Linked DNA regions of Homo sapiens: all the other regions are linked to region 2. The links are contacts of gene promoters, found by promoter capture Hi-C in blood cells and fetal thymus (Javierre and others, 2016). All regions are on one chromosome and are shown on one strand. The core of a region is centred on a gene start or on the middle of the fragment in contact, and the rest is flanking DNA. Distances in the headings are between cores, read along the strand shown.

What was found. Contacts are between HindIII fragments. The CHiCAGO score rates a contact against its expected background, and 5 or more counts as called.
Region 1: a fragment that was not itself captured here is called in contact with the fragment with the promoter of SLURP1 in region 2 in 1 of 17 cell types (naive CD8 T cells); the score reaches 5.2 in naive CD8 T cells.
Region 3: a contact is called between a fragment that was not itself captured here and the fragment with the promoter of SLURP1 in region 2, in 1 of 17 cell types (naive CD8 T cells). The highest score is 5.9, in naive CD8 T cells.
Region 4: a fragment that was not itself captured here is called in contact with the fragment with the promoter of SLURP1 in region 2 in 2 of 17 cell types (naive CD8 T cells and total CD4 T cells); the score reaches 5.6 in naive CD8 T cells.

The regions. Positions count from the first base shown.
Region 1 is chr8:143,129,159-143,132,671 of GRCh38, forward strand. No RefSeq gene overlaps it. Among named protein-coding and RNA genes, the nearest start is that of LY6H, 29 kb to the right of the region's middle. The HindIII fragment of the contact is 2,885 bases long and covers 99-2,983 here.
Region 2 is chr8:142,740,617-142,743,664 of GRCh38, forward strand. SLURP1 (secreted LY6/PLAUR domain containing 1) reads right to left here and starts at 1,790. Exons shown (of 3, transcript NM_020427.3): 1 at 1,712-1,790; 2 at 1,187-1,306; 3 at 333-660. The coding sequence starts at 1,769. The coding sequence ends at 527. The HindIII fragment of the contact is 7,810 bases long and covers 1-3,048 here.
Region 3 is chr8:143,147,751-143,151,153 of GRCh38, forward strand. No RefSeq gene overlaps it. Among named protein-coding and RNA genes, the nearest start is that of LY6H, 11 kb to the right of the region's middle. The HindIII fragment of the contact is 1,177 bases long and covers 767-1,943 here.
Region 4 is chr8:143,003,905-143,007,257 of GRCh38, forward strand. All of the region lies in intron 1 of LY6E-DT (LY6E divergent transcript), which reads right to left. Among named protein-coding and RNA genes, the nearest start is that of LY6E-DT, 13 kb to the right of the region's middle. The HindIII fragment of the contact is 2,196 bases long and covers 755-2,950 here.

The DNA of each region.
Region 1 (3,513 bases), core at 291-2,790, 390 kb after region 2:
CAGGGGAGAATGGCAGAGCTCCTGTGCCCTCCTGGGCGCCGTCCTCCAGGCACCTGCGTGCGTCCAACTGTTGAAAGCTCCTTTTGGGTTTTTATGGAAGCTTCATTACATATACATGATTGATTGCATCGTTGGCTATTGATGATCAACCCAAACTTCATCACACTCACTACAAAAGAGACTCTTGTCACTCCAGAGATTCCAGGAAGGAGCTAAGCTGTATCTCACGCTCTCACGACACTCTATTCTGGACTTGGCTTATTTGTAACAGAAGCAACCTTGGGAACAGCATGAGGTGTTTAGAATGGTGAGTCCTCTGTCAATTTCAGCCGACTTGGACCTACTTCTTCTGATCCAGGTACCCACTCTTGCTGGCACCAGGACACTGAGACGGTCCAGGAAACACGGCAAGCATACGTGTGCACCACACTGCTCGTCCCGTCCAGCTGTGGCCATGCTGAAAATTGCAATGGGCCACTGGAAGACAGGTTATTCAGGCAGGTGTGAGAAACGTGACCAGTTGGTGGAGTCGCTTAACTGGGGTGTCTTCAGACTGAGCCTGAGGGGAAGGCAGGCAGGCCGCTCACAGGCTTCAGGGCTGGGGGAAGGAGGAGGGCGTGTGGGGGGTGCAATTGGACCCTCTGTACCTTCCCCACCTCCCAAAGGTTTCTCTTCTTCTGCCTGAGCCAGTGGTCCCAGGACCCCATGCCCAAGCACTAAAGTGGGCGGCACAGGCTCCAGAAGGGACATTAGACTGGTCATGACTGGACCCCATGGCGGGACTTCCTGCAAATGTGGCCAGCAGGAGGGCTGCCCCGTGGCTCCTCACCGGCGAGTCCTGTGGCAGCAGCAGGCCGAGACACAGCACCACAGGGCTGTGCCGGGTGCCTGCTCGAAGGCAGAGCTGCAGTGGGGGATCCAACAGGAACCGTGGAAATGGGGGGCTCCTGCAGGCAGGGGGATACCCACAGGGTCCCGTGATCCTGCAGGGGTGCAAGTGGCTCCTTCCGTGATGGCCCTAGAGCAAGAGGGTAATACTCTTGCCACCTCTCCCAGACCTGGGGCCAAGTAAAGGCTGATGATAAAGAAGCCAGAGGTGCTTTTCCCAGAGATGGGAATCGGATTCCTGCTGACTTCACCTGAGTAATTCAGAGCACGAGGGAAGCTGCACCTCCAGGGGCGCTCCTGACAGGTAACCCACTGGAGCTGCTATTCCGCAGCAGAGGCACCAGCCAGAAAGATCCGAAAGAAACATTTTCAAAAGTGGACCAAGATGGCTGCAGTTTGGCCACACGGGTAGTAGGAGGCAGGCCTGGCCTATGAGGCTGGAATCTGCATTGTCTCACTGACGTGTCCTGGTCACTGCCGTGCCTGTCAGATGAGGCAGGACAGAACAGTCGCCCCTGCAGACCCTGAGGCTCCAGTAGGTGCCAGCTTTCCACCCTGTGTGCCAGCCACGTGTCCACTCCACCTGTGTACAAGGCACCGAGGCCAGGCAGGACTGCGAGGTCCCCCTGAGCGCACTGCCCCTCTCAGGCTGTGGAACCACCCCTCCTGCCTCCTCAGCCGATGGAACCTGTGTTCCGGGTTGCCACTCACTCTTGGCTCAGCATAAAACGCACTTTGGCTTCTCTAAGTCTGCAGTGCCCATGAGTGCGGCCTCCAGCCGTCGCTGCCGTCTGCCCCTCTCGGAGGACAGATGAGAACAGTGCAGGGATCCCAGGGTGGGGAATGCCCAGGAGCCTGGCCTCCACTCTGGGGTGACCCCGGACCTGCCAGGCGCTGCCTGCATGTGGAGGGGGCATTGCTGCCTCCTCCCTGCCTCAGAGCTTGATCTGCGAGTCCGAACGTGCCAAGTGTGAACCAGCCCCAGCGATCTCCAGGCAGAAACAGATGCATTGGTCTCATGAGGGTTGGCCCCACCCTGCTGAAGGTTTGGGGAGATTTTAGAATTTGGTCTTGGGGCCCTGAGTGCGGCAGAAACAGTGTCCCTGCACGCTCATCATGAAGAGCAGGAGGCTTGTTATCCTGAGTAGGGACAGCAGAGGGCGACCTCTTCCAGGATCCAGACACAGGCCCGGGAGGCTGTAAAGGCCACTCATACGGGAATCGATGGAAATCGGACACCCGTCCCCAGCCCTGGGCCAGTGTGCATCCTTCCTCACCCAGGAGGGGCTACTGAACACTCTCATCCCTGGCATCTGATGCTGTAGAGGTCAGAGGCCAGGTCGGGGCCGGGCAGTAGCCTGAGTCCTGAGGGAGCAGTGCTGACAACGGCCCCTCAACCCATCGCTGTTCTCCCGCAGCCTGAGTGCCACCAATGTAAAAGGACAGCTGTGTGGGCCGCATGTGCCCGGAATGAGGCCCCCTGCTCCCTCAGCCGCGTTCTCATGGGTGAACAAAGACCGTGATGGAACCCACCTGAGCCCCTGAGCCGGCTGGACTGGATTATCCTCCCTATGCGTGGATAATCAGAGCCGGGATTATTCCCCTTAAATATTCCTCTTCCCACTGGCAGTTCTGATTCTCTTTGGACAACTGTTAGGAAACTGAAAAACCTAACAGTGTGTCCTCCTTTCCTGGCCAAGGAAGAAACCACCGTTTAGCTTCTTCATGCCCCAGCCAAAGAGCAGGCGATGGAGGCCCAGAAAACCAACCCCACGCTGTCTGACACAGCTCTCGAGACCCGGTCATCTAAGGCAGCTGTTTGCAAGGCTCTCCTGGGCTGCACCTGCCACCACTTCTCACAACCCACCTTAGCTCCAGTCTGCAGAGCCCCTGCGAAGGCTGAGTTAGAGAACGCTGAGCCCCTGCTGCTAGCAGACACACAGGGTTAGGGTCCCGCAAGCCTCTGGCTCCGTTTTCATCAGCCGATCAATATATCATCTCATTCTCTGTGTTTCTATTTAAAGATCCCTTACTGAATGCACGTGGTGGCTTCATTAACATTGCAATCGGTGCCAAGCACCGTAAGCCTGGACAAAGCTTCTCTGACCCAGGCATTCCTTGCCTAGGACGTGAGGCAGCACCTCGGGACAATGCTTGGGGACATTGCAAACAGCAAAGTCACCCACAAAAAGCACAAAAATGCAAAAAAAAAAAAAATGGCACCAGATAGACCACGAAAAGGGCTCTTGATTGCAGCACAAGCTGGAGCAAGAAGGCCGCCCTGCGCAACCTCAGCCAAGAACGCACTCCGGTGACTCAGAATTGTCGCCGCTCCGTGCAAGTAAGTGTTTGGGGATTACAGCTTCTTTTTTTTTTTGAGACGGAGTCTAGCTCTGTCGCCCAGGCTGGAGTACAGCCGTGTGGTCTTGGCTCACTGCAACCTCCACCTCCCATGTTCGAGCGATTCTCCTGCTTCAGCCTCCCAAGTAACCACCACGCCCAGCTAATTTTGTATTTTTAAAGTCACGGGGTTTCACCATATTGGTCAGGCTGGTCTTGAACTCCTGACCTCGTGATCAGCCCACCTCGGCCTCCCAAAGTGCTGGATTTACAGGTGTGAGCCAC
Region 2 (3,048 bases), core at 540-3,039:
GGAGGAAAGTGGATGCCAACTCTGAGCTTCCTTCCCTCTCTAGGGTGGGAGCGATGTCTCCAGGGTTTACAGGGGAGATTCTTAGCGGGAGATGTTCCCTGGGCTAGGGTACAGGTCCTGGTCTGAGATGCCAGGCTAGTTTGCATCAGGAAAGGGGCCCAGGAGGCATTTCTTCCCCTAAGTCTCTGTTTTCCTATCTGTGAAATGGGTCACAGAGGCTCTGGGTGAGAGGGAGGAGCAGGTGCCTAGAATGTGCTGTCCTTCAGCCTGGCTCTCCTGAAGGCCAGTTCTGTAGGGTGTCAGTGCCCAGGAAGGACAAAAGTCATGTCCACTCTTGGCTTAGTTATGTTTTATAAGCGTGGGGTATGGAAGGCAGAGGGCGCCCCTGGTGTGCTTCTCTCCCCTCAGACCCCATGAGTGAGCTGTGCCACAGCAGCAGGAAGCAGGGGGAGGTGATCACAGGTGGAGCCAGGCCCCGTCAGAGAGGAGGTGCCTGAGGAGCACCTTCCGCCCTGCCGCCCTGGGTTCAGAGTTCCGAGTTGCAGAGGTCTCGGAAGCAGCAGAAGATCAGGTGGGCGGCCCCGATGCTGTCGGGGTCGGTGGCCACACAGGAGCTGGAGCAGGAGCGGGTCACCACGGGGCTCTGGTTGAAGGGGTACTCTGCAGGGTGGGCCAGTGTCAGAACCCTCACTCCCCTGCAGCGCCTGCCTGCTGCTGCACTGCTCCCAGCCGCCGTCGCCTGACCTCACCCTCCCTGTGATCCCTGTTCCCAATAGTCCACATCTGTGAAGCCACCCAGGGCCCAGCCCTCCTCTGACTGTGACCTGTTCATGAATTATTAGGCCTTGTCAGACCTCTGAAGTGCCTGCGCTGAGATGGGAGCCCGAGCCCAGAGGCTGTGGCAACACCACCCAGTGGGTCTGTGTCAGAGCTGGGGTTTGAGCCCCCCAGGGTACCCCGGCCATTAAGCCCCACCCACCTCCAGCGCCTGGTGCCCCAGGACTGGGTCTCTGAGGGGGCTGTGCCACCCTCGTGGAAGGCACCCCTGCCAAGGTGTGGCAGCCTGTTCTGCCCATCCCACCTGCTGCCTTTTGGGCCGGGAGGAGCACCAGCAAAGGAGGGAGGCACTTGGGGGAGGTGGCCCTGACTCCAGTGCACCCAGGGCTGCCGTGGGGCCTGGCCTCACCTGCCTCCACCGTCACCAGCGTGGTCATGCAGGCTGTGTCCTCTGGCTTGCAGCGGGTAATGGTCCTGCAGGAAGCACTGGTCATGGGCTCCTTGCAGGTGTAGCACTTGAGGGCCTCACCTGGGTGAGGGATGGGGGCAGAACCTCATCACCTGACCTCGGTGGCCTCATCCTGGAACCAGGAGGCAGGGGCTGAAGGAGTCTCGCTGACATCTTTCAAGGCCCCGGGCAGCCCTTCAAGGGGCCTCTCTGGCAGCTTTCTCTAACTGAGCTGAGCCACAGACTTGAATGCTGCATCCCTCCACCAAGCCTCAGTCTCCCTTCCTGCAGAGTGGAGCCGTGACCCCTGTCCCAGGGTGAAGCTGGGCTCTGGGACCCAGGAGGCTCACTGAGAATGAGGAGGGTGAGCCTCATGGAGGCCTAAGGAGGCTCTCAGCCACAAAGCACCCCCAACAGCCCCATCCCCCTAGGAGGTGGGCAGACAAGCTCAGAGGCAGGGTCCCCACCAGCCTGCGGCCCACTCACCACAGCCCATGCTCCAGGCTGCCACGAGCAGCAGCTGCACAGCCCAGCGAGAGGCCATTGCTCCGTGCTCAGAAGTGATGAGAGGTAGCCAGCCTCACATCAAGGATTTATACCCAGGCCCTTGGGCACCGGCTTCTGGGCGGTGGCAGAACCGGCCGTGTGAGTCAGGAACGTGGTAAAGGGCCCAGTGGGGAGGCAGCTGGCAGGAACATGGCAGACGGGCAGGGAGCTGGATCTGGGAGCTCTGTCTGAGGACGATGGCCAGGCCTCTGCTTGCACACCTCCAACACTGGGGAACTCACTGTTCCTCAGCCATGTCCAGTGGTCCTGGGACAGCTCTGACAGAGAAGGCCTTTCCTGCTGAGCTCAGACTGCCCCTCTGATGAGCCCCCATGTCCTGGCTGTGCCTCTGGGGTTCACATAGGCCACCCAGCCCCAGCCTGGGGGACCCTTAAGACCCAGGTTCAGTGTAGCCTCTGCCCTTGTTGCTCTAGCCCCGCCTGGCACCCCTTCCCTGCAGCCTGGCCTGCAGCCCTCTCCACAGACCTCTACCTGGTCTGTGTACACCTGATACACACCTGCAAAGTAGAAACCAGAGGTAGGAAGCAGGTGTCAGGTGAGGGTAGCATGGGCCAGCTAGACCACTCTCAGGCTGACAAGGTTGGGCCCAGGAGTGGCCCCTCATCACTGCCAGCCCCTTCCCACTAATGGCCTTTAGACCAAACCTGAGTTTCTTGATTTTAGGCGCCTGACAATAAGGTTCTGCTCACCCTCCAGCCTCCTGGCCTGACTGTGTTGTCTGCTCTTTACTGCGTGCCCCCCACGACACCCTGTTCCACACGCATGCCTGCCTATGCCATACCGCTCAATGACCACATTGCCTGGTCTCCCATCTGATGTCCCACATCTTCCCCATGCTGTGAGACCCACTAAGGTGCCCCTCTCCACAGTCCTTCCAGGTATACCAGCCTCTCTGGTTTCTCTGTCCTGTGATGTCCCAATGGGTGGTTGTATAGATGGATGAGTTGATGGATGGATGGATGGGGGATGGATGAATGGGGGATGAATAGGCGATGGATAGGGGATGGATGGATAGATGGGTGGGGGATGGATGGGTAAATGAATGGGAGATGGATGGGTGGATGCATGAGTGGATGGGTGGATGGATGGGTAGATGGATTAGTGGGGGATGAATATGGGATGGATGGATGGATGGTAAGAGATGGATAGGAAATGGGTGAAGGATGTATGGGTGGATAAGTTGGGGATGAATGGAGGATGGGTGGGGGATGGATGCATAGATGGATGGATAGGTGGATGGATGGATGGATGGGTGG
Region 3 (3,403 bases), core at 105-2,604, 410 kb after region 2:
CAGGGTCAGTGGCCTGGGGAGGAAGAGTGCGAACCCAGCCCCAGCACCCACAGCCAAGCCACGCTGCTCCGAGCACCGCCATGGGCCAGGGAAGTCTGGGACCTGGCCTCACCGCTGCCTCAAAACCCTCTCTCACCCACCCAGAGATTTCCCAGCTGGACACTCAGCGGTTTTCCCAGAGCCTCTGGTTCTCCATTGCTGAGCCAGTGATGCATGGCTGCTTCCAGCCAGCCCCCAGTGCCGAGAGAAGGAGCCCCCGTGACATTAGGGGAACTTGAGGACAGTGGTGGGGAGGGCAGAGAGGCTCTGCTCTAGCCGGGGGATTCTGGAGCTTCAGCCAGGAGGGCCACTGTCAGGCGAGGGGCCGGGGGAGGCCCCCAGCCCCAGACTCTCCTGTTCCTTGAGGGCCTGACTCTCAGCCACTCCCACCTTCCAGTTCTCCAGGACGCCCCCACCCCAGTATCCTGCGGTGCCCACCTCAGCCCAGTCAGCATCGGGGGGCCCTGCCCCACCCATAACTCACCTATGCCCTCGCTGGGTGGCCCAGGCCCGCCCTCCCCAGGCCAGGTCCTGGGCCTCCTGGGCGCCTCCATCCACCCCATGCCCGTCAGGCCTCACCTCCTGCATCCCACCAGGACCTCCCAGATGGGCACCCACCCCCATCATGGGCTGCAGACTACAGCTGGCCAGCCTTTCTAGGATCCCAGACCTGAGCCCATAGCTGGGGCTCAAAGGCATTAAGGCCGGCCTGGTCCTCCTGGATTCAAGCTTCTTGGGCCACCAGGTTTTGTTCGTCACTGTCCTCTCTGTCCCCTAATAACGTTCACTGCTAGAAATGACCACCTGACACACCCTCCCACGCTCAGGACCTGGGGCACAGGCCTCGCTGGTAAAAGCCCACATGGGAGGGGAGTGAGCCCCGCAGCTCAGGCATCAAGACTGCAGGGAGCAGCAGGTGCCCCCATCCCAGCTCTGCAGCCCCTGTCTCCCGCTCTGGGCCTCTTGGTTCTGATCTGCTCCTCTCTGCGTGTCTTAGCTGTGCCGAGGGGGCACGGACAGATGCATTTCAAACTCACGTCAGCAAGCATGGACAGGTGCAGAAACCAACACAAGAGAGAATGAGCCACCGGGTGGAGTCAATCAATGAACACATTTAGCCCCCTCCCCTCCAGTTCACCCACACCCACCAGGTGGGGCTAGAGCCTTACAGTGGGAAGGGGCTCACGGGGGCCGGAGCATAAGGGGGGACCGCAGAGCCCAGGAGGAGCAGGGGCCACCGGCCACCCACGTGTGCAGGCCTTCCCTGCCCAGTGAGGGGACAGAAGACCAGGCCTGGGACTCCCGGGCACCCAGGATGGGACAGCACAGGGAGGGCCTCAGAAATGCTCCAGGGCAGAGGGACAGACGCCAGGGAGAGGCGATTCCAGGAACCACCCTCGTGTGCCCTTCTGGGGATGGGAGACGTCCCCTGCACCTGTGAGCTTAGGTCTGAGTCAGCATGTTCTGCATCCCTGCAGGAAACACAGGGAGCAGGGGTGGTGGGCCTGGGACCCCCTGGGGGTGAGGCGTGGTCCACAGGCCCCTAGGCTGCAGGGGCCACAGGTTCCTGCCCTCAGTGGAGGGAGGACTCACTGGAGGCTGGGTGTGGGAAAACAGCACCCCTATGCTGCCCGGCCCTGAATCCCCCAGCCCACAGTGCCAGCACAGCCCCAGCACACACGGGGCCTCGAAGTGCAGGGGTGAGCCCCAGGCCTGGGCACCACGCAGCTTCCAACTGGGTTCCTCCATCGGGCGCTGGGTAATCGCCAGCCCTGCTCCGCCTGAGAAGAAAGCAGGAGAGGTTCCCTTTAAGCATCGGAGGAGGGAAGATTTTTCTATGACTCAAATCCTGAAGCTGTAAGAAATAATGGTAATAGTGTCTCCATAAAAATTCAAGGAAAAGAAGCTTCCATGTGGCAAAAAAAAAGAAAAAAGAAAAAAAAACTCACAAAACACCATAAGCAAAATAAAGGGGGAAATGTGTGTCACTCTTATTATAAATGAAGGGCTTATTTCCCAGCTATGCAGAAAGTTCCCAGAAAAGAGTAAGGAGACCAACCATCCCACAGCAAAGGGACCGAGGTTATGAGCAGAGAGGCCAGAGAAATGGAAACCATCCCCACACACCCCCCAACAAAAGACAAAGAAATCAAAATGCCCAGAACGAGAAGACGGGCATGCACGAACCAATAAGGGGCACGTGCCAGGAGCCAAGGGTGACGGCGCCTCCAGGTCCCCATACCTGTGGTCCAACTTCCAAAATTCAGAACACAGCTGCAATGCCGTCTTTCATTGCTGACCAGACTCACGGAAGTCCAACGGCAACAGAGAAGCTGTGGTCTCAGGCATCGCTACTGGAAGTGTGAAAGTGTGCAGCCCCAGGACAACCATGCTCACTCATCAGTTACAGGCCCAGCAAGACTGACTCTGGAGATGTGTCCCCACACGCAGCAGCTAGCTGACATGTCTGAGGCTATGCATTACAGCCTTGTAACTGGAGCATGAGTGAGACCATCTAAATATGCAGAAACAGGCCAGGCGCGGTGGTTCACGCATGTAATCCCAGCACTTTGGGAGGCCAAGGCCAGCAGATCACTTGAGGTCGGGAGTTGGAGATCAGCCTGACCAACATGGTGAAACCCCATCTCTACTAAAGATACAAAAATTAGCCAGGCATGGTGGCACACACCTGTAATCCCAGCTACTTGGGAGGCTGAGGTACAAGAATCTCTTGAACCCAGGAGGCAGAGGTTGCAATGAGCCAAGATGACACCACTGCACTCCAGCCTGGGCGACAGAGTAAGACTCTGTCTCTAAATAAATAAATAAGCAGACACAGGAGTATGTGTGCTGTGCGATGCTGCTGTTAAGAACGGAGTGGGGAGCTGGCTCTGCGCCATCACAGAAAGATCTCCAGGCTGCACTGAGAGGCAGAAAGAGTAAACGACCTCAGCTGTAAAGGACTTTCTTGTCCTTGTATAAAGACATCCTGAACGGGTACACAGGAAACCGGTCAGATAATGACAGGGCAGGAGACACACTTCTCAAGGTAGACTTCTTTTTTAATTGATGCAAGCGTTCTTACCTGTTTTTTTAAAAGAATCCAAACAGAGGAGCCCTTGAACCTCCTTGCCCCTTCCTGCTCCACGCCCCTGTCCCCAGCAGCCTCCCTCCAAGTAGGGTGAGGAAGGCACTAGCCTCCCTTCCAGGTGGCCTTGGCAGCAAGTGCTGGAGCTGGCCCTGCAGTGGGCCCCAGCCTGACCTGAAAGACCCACTGCTTTAGCCCCATGAGGCCCACGGGCTCAATTCCCCATGAGCCATGGACAGCAGCTCAGGCTGCCTGCAGAGCTCGTGTGCTCTGCCT
Region 4 (3,353 bases), core at 603-3,102, 260 kb after region 2:
GCAAACAGGGATAGTTTGGCTTCCTCTCTTCCTATTTGGATGCCTTTTTAATTTTTTTTTTTTTTTTTTTTGAGACACTCTGTCACCCAGGCTGGAGTGTAGTGATGCAATCTCAGCTCACTGCAACCTCCACTTCCTGGGCTCAAGTGATCCTCCTGATTCAGCCTCCTGAGGAGCTGGGACTACAGATGCAAGCCACCATGCCCAGCTAATTTTTTGCTTTTTTTTTTTTTTTTTTTTTTGTAGAGACGAGGTCTCACTGTGTTACCCAGGCTGATCTCAAACTCCTGAGCCCAAAGCAATCCACCTGCCTTAGCCTCTCAAAGTGCTGGGATTATAGGAGTGAGCCACATGCCTGGACAAGATGCCTTTTATTTATTTCTCTTGCCCGATTGCTCTGGCTGGGACTTCCAATACTACGTTGAACCGGAATGGTGAGAGAGAGAATTCCTATCTCATGCTGGTTTTCCAGGGGAATACTTCCAGCTTTTGGCCATTCAGTATGATGTTGGCTGTGGGTTTGTCAGAGATGCCTCTTATTATTTTGAGGTATGTTCCTTCAATATCTAGTTTATTGAGAGTTTTTAACATTAAGCGGTATTGAATTTTATAAAAAGCTTTCTCTGACTCTATTGAGATAATTGTATGGTTTTTGTCTTTAGTTCTGTTTATGTGATGAATCACATGTGTTGATTTGTGTATGTTGAACCAACCTTGCATGCCAGGGATAAAGCCTACTTGATCATAGTGGATAAGCTTGATGATGTGCTGCTGGATTCCATTTGCCAGTCTTTTGTTGAGGGTTTTTGTGTCGATGTTCATCGAGGATATTGGCCTGAAGTTTTTGTTGTTGTTGCTGTGTCTCTGCCAGGTTTTGGTATCAGAATGATGGTGGCTTCATAGAATGAGTTAGAGAGGAGTCTCTCCTCCTCAATTTTTTTGGAATCATTTCAGCAACAATGGTACCAGTTCTCCTTTTACATCTGATATACTTCAGCTGAGACTCCATCTGGACCTGGGCTTTTTTTGATTGGTAAGCTATTCATTACTGATTCAATTTCAGAGCTCATTATTGGTGTGTTCAGGGATTCCATTTCTTCCTGGCTCAGTTTTTTGTTTTTTGTTTGTTTTTGAGACAGAGTCTTGCTCTGTCTCCCAGGCAGGAGTGCAGTGGTGCAATCTTGGCTCACTGCAACCTCTGCCTCCCAGGTTCAAGCAATTCTCCTGCCTCAGCCTCCTGAGTAGCTGGGATTACAGGCATGTACCACCATGCCCAGCTAATTTGTATATTTTAGTGGAGATGGGGTTTCACTATGTTGGCCAGGCTGGTCTCAAACTCGTGATCTCAAGTGATCCACCCACCTTGGCCTCCTAAAGTGCTGGGATTACAGGCATGAGCTACCATGCCTGGCCCTGGCTCAGTCTTGAGAGGGTGTATATGTCCAGGAATTTACCCATTTTTTCTGGATTTTCTAGTTTATGTGCATAGAGGTGTTCATAATATTCTCTGGTGGTTATTTATATTTCTGTGGGGCCACTGGTAATATCTCCTTTGTCATCTCTGATCGTGTTTATTTGGATCTTCGCTTTTCTTCTGTATTAGTCTAGCTAGTGGTCTATCTATTGTATTAACTTTTTCAAAAAACCAACTTCTGGATTTGTTGATCTTTTGAATGGTTTTCACGTCTCAGTCTCCTTCGGTTCTGCTCTGATTTTGGCTACTTCTTGTCTTCTGCTAGCTTTGGGGCTGGTTTTCTCTTGGTTCTCCAGTTCTTTTAGTTGTGATGTTCGGTTGTTAAATTGAGATCTTTCTAACTTTTTGATGTGGGCCTTTAGTGCTATAAATTTCCCCTTAACACTGACTTAGCTGTGTCCCAGAGATTCTGGTATGCTGTATCTTTGTTCTTATTAGTTTGAAAGAACGTCTTGATTTCTGACTTAATTTCATCATCTACGCAAAAGTCAATCAGGGGCAGGTTATTCAATTTCCATATAATTGCATGATTTTGAGTGAATTTCTTAGTCTTGATTTCTAATTTGGTTGTGCTGTGGTCTGAGAAATTGGTTGTTATGATTTCAGTTCTTTTGTATTTGCTGAGGAGTGTTTTTTGTTCAATCATGTGATCTATCTTAGAGTATGTGTCATGTGGCAATGAGAAGAATGCATATTCTGTTGTTTCGGGGTGGAGAGTTCTGTAGGTGTCTATCAGGTCCATTTGTTCCAGTGCTGAGTTCAGCTCCTGAATTTTTTTGTGAATTTTCTGCCTTAATGATCTGTCTAATACTGTCAGTGGGGTGTTAAAGTCTCCCACTATTATTGTGTGAGAGTCTAAGTCTCTTTGAAGGTCTTTAAGAACTTGCTTTATAAATGTGGGTGCTCCTATGTTGGGTGCATATATATTTAGGATAGTTAGGTCTTCTTGTTGAATTGAACGTTTTACCATTATGTAATGCCCATCTTTGTCTTTTTTGATCTTTGTCGGCTTAATGTCTGTTTTGTCTGAAGTTAGGATTGCAACCCCTGATTTGTTGTTTTCCATTTGCTTGGTAGATTTTTCTCCATCCTTTTATTTGAGCCTATGGATGTCACTGCATGTGAAATGGATCTCTTGAAGACAACATACCGATGGGTATTGGTTCTTTATCCAGCATGCAACTCTGTGCCTTTTAATTGGGGCATTTAGCCCATTTACATGCAAGGTTAGTATTGATATATGTGGATTTGCTCCTGTCATCATGTTAGCTGATTATTATGCAGATTTGTTTGTGTGGTTGCTTTATAGTGCAACTGGTCTGTGTACTTTGGTATGTTTTTGTAGTGGCTGGTAACAGTCTTTCTTTTCCATATTTAGTGCTGCCTTCAGGAGTTCTTGTGAGGCAGGTCTGGTGGTGACAAATTCCCTCAGCATTTACTTGTCTGAAAAGGATCTTATTTCTCCTTCACTTATGAAGCTTAGTTTGGCCAGATATGAAATTCTGGGTTGGAATTTCTTTAGGAATGTTGAATATTGGCCCCCAATCTCTTCTGGCTTGTAGGGTTTCTACTGAGAGGTCTGCTCTTAGTCTGATAGGTGTTCCTTTGTAGGTGACCTGGCCTTTCTCTCTGGCTGCCTTTAACTTTTTTCCTTTCATTTCGACCTTGAAGAATTTCATGATTATGTGTCTTGGGGATGATCTTCTCATAGAGTATCTTACTCTGAGTTTCCTGGATTTGGATGGCAGCCTCTCTAGCTAGGCTGGGGAAGTTTTCATGGATGATATCCTGAAATCTGTCTTCCAAGTTGCTTACACTCTCCCCATCTCTTTCAGGGACACCAATGAGTCACAGATTTGGATTACAGAATCCCATATTT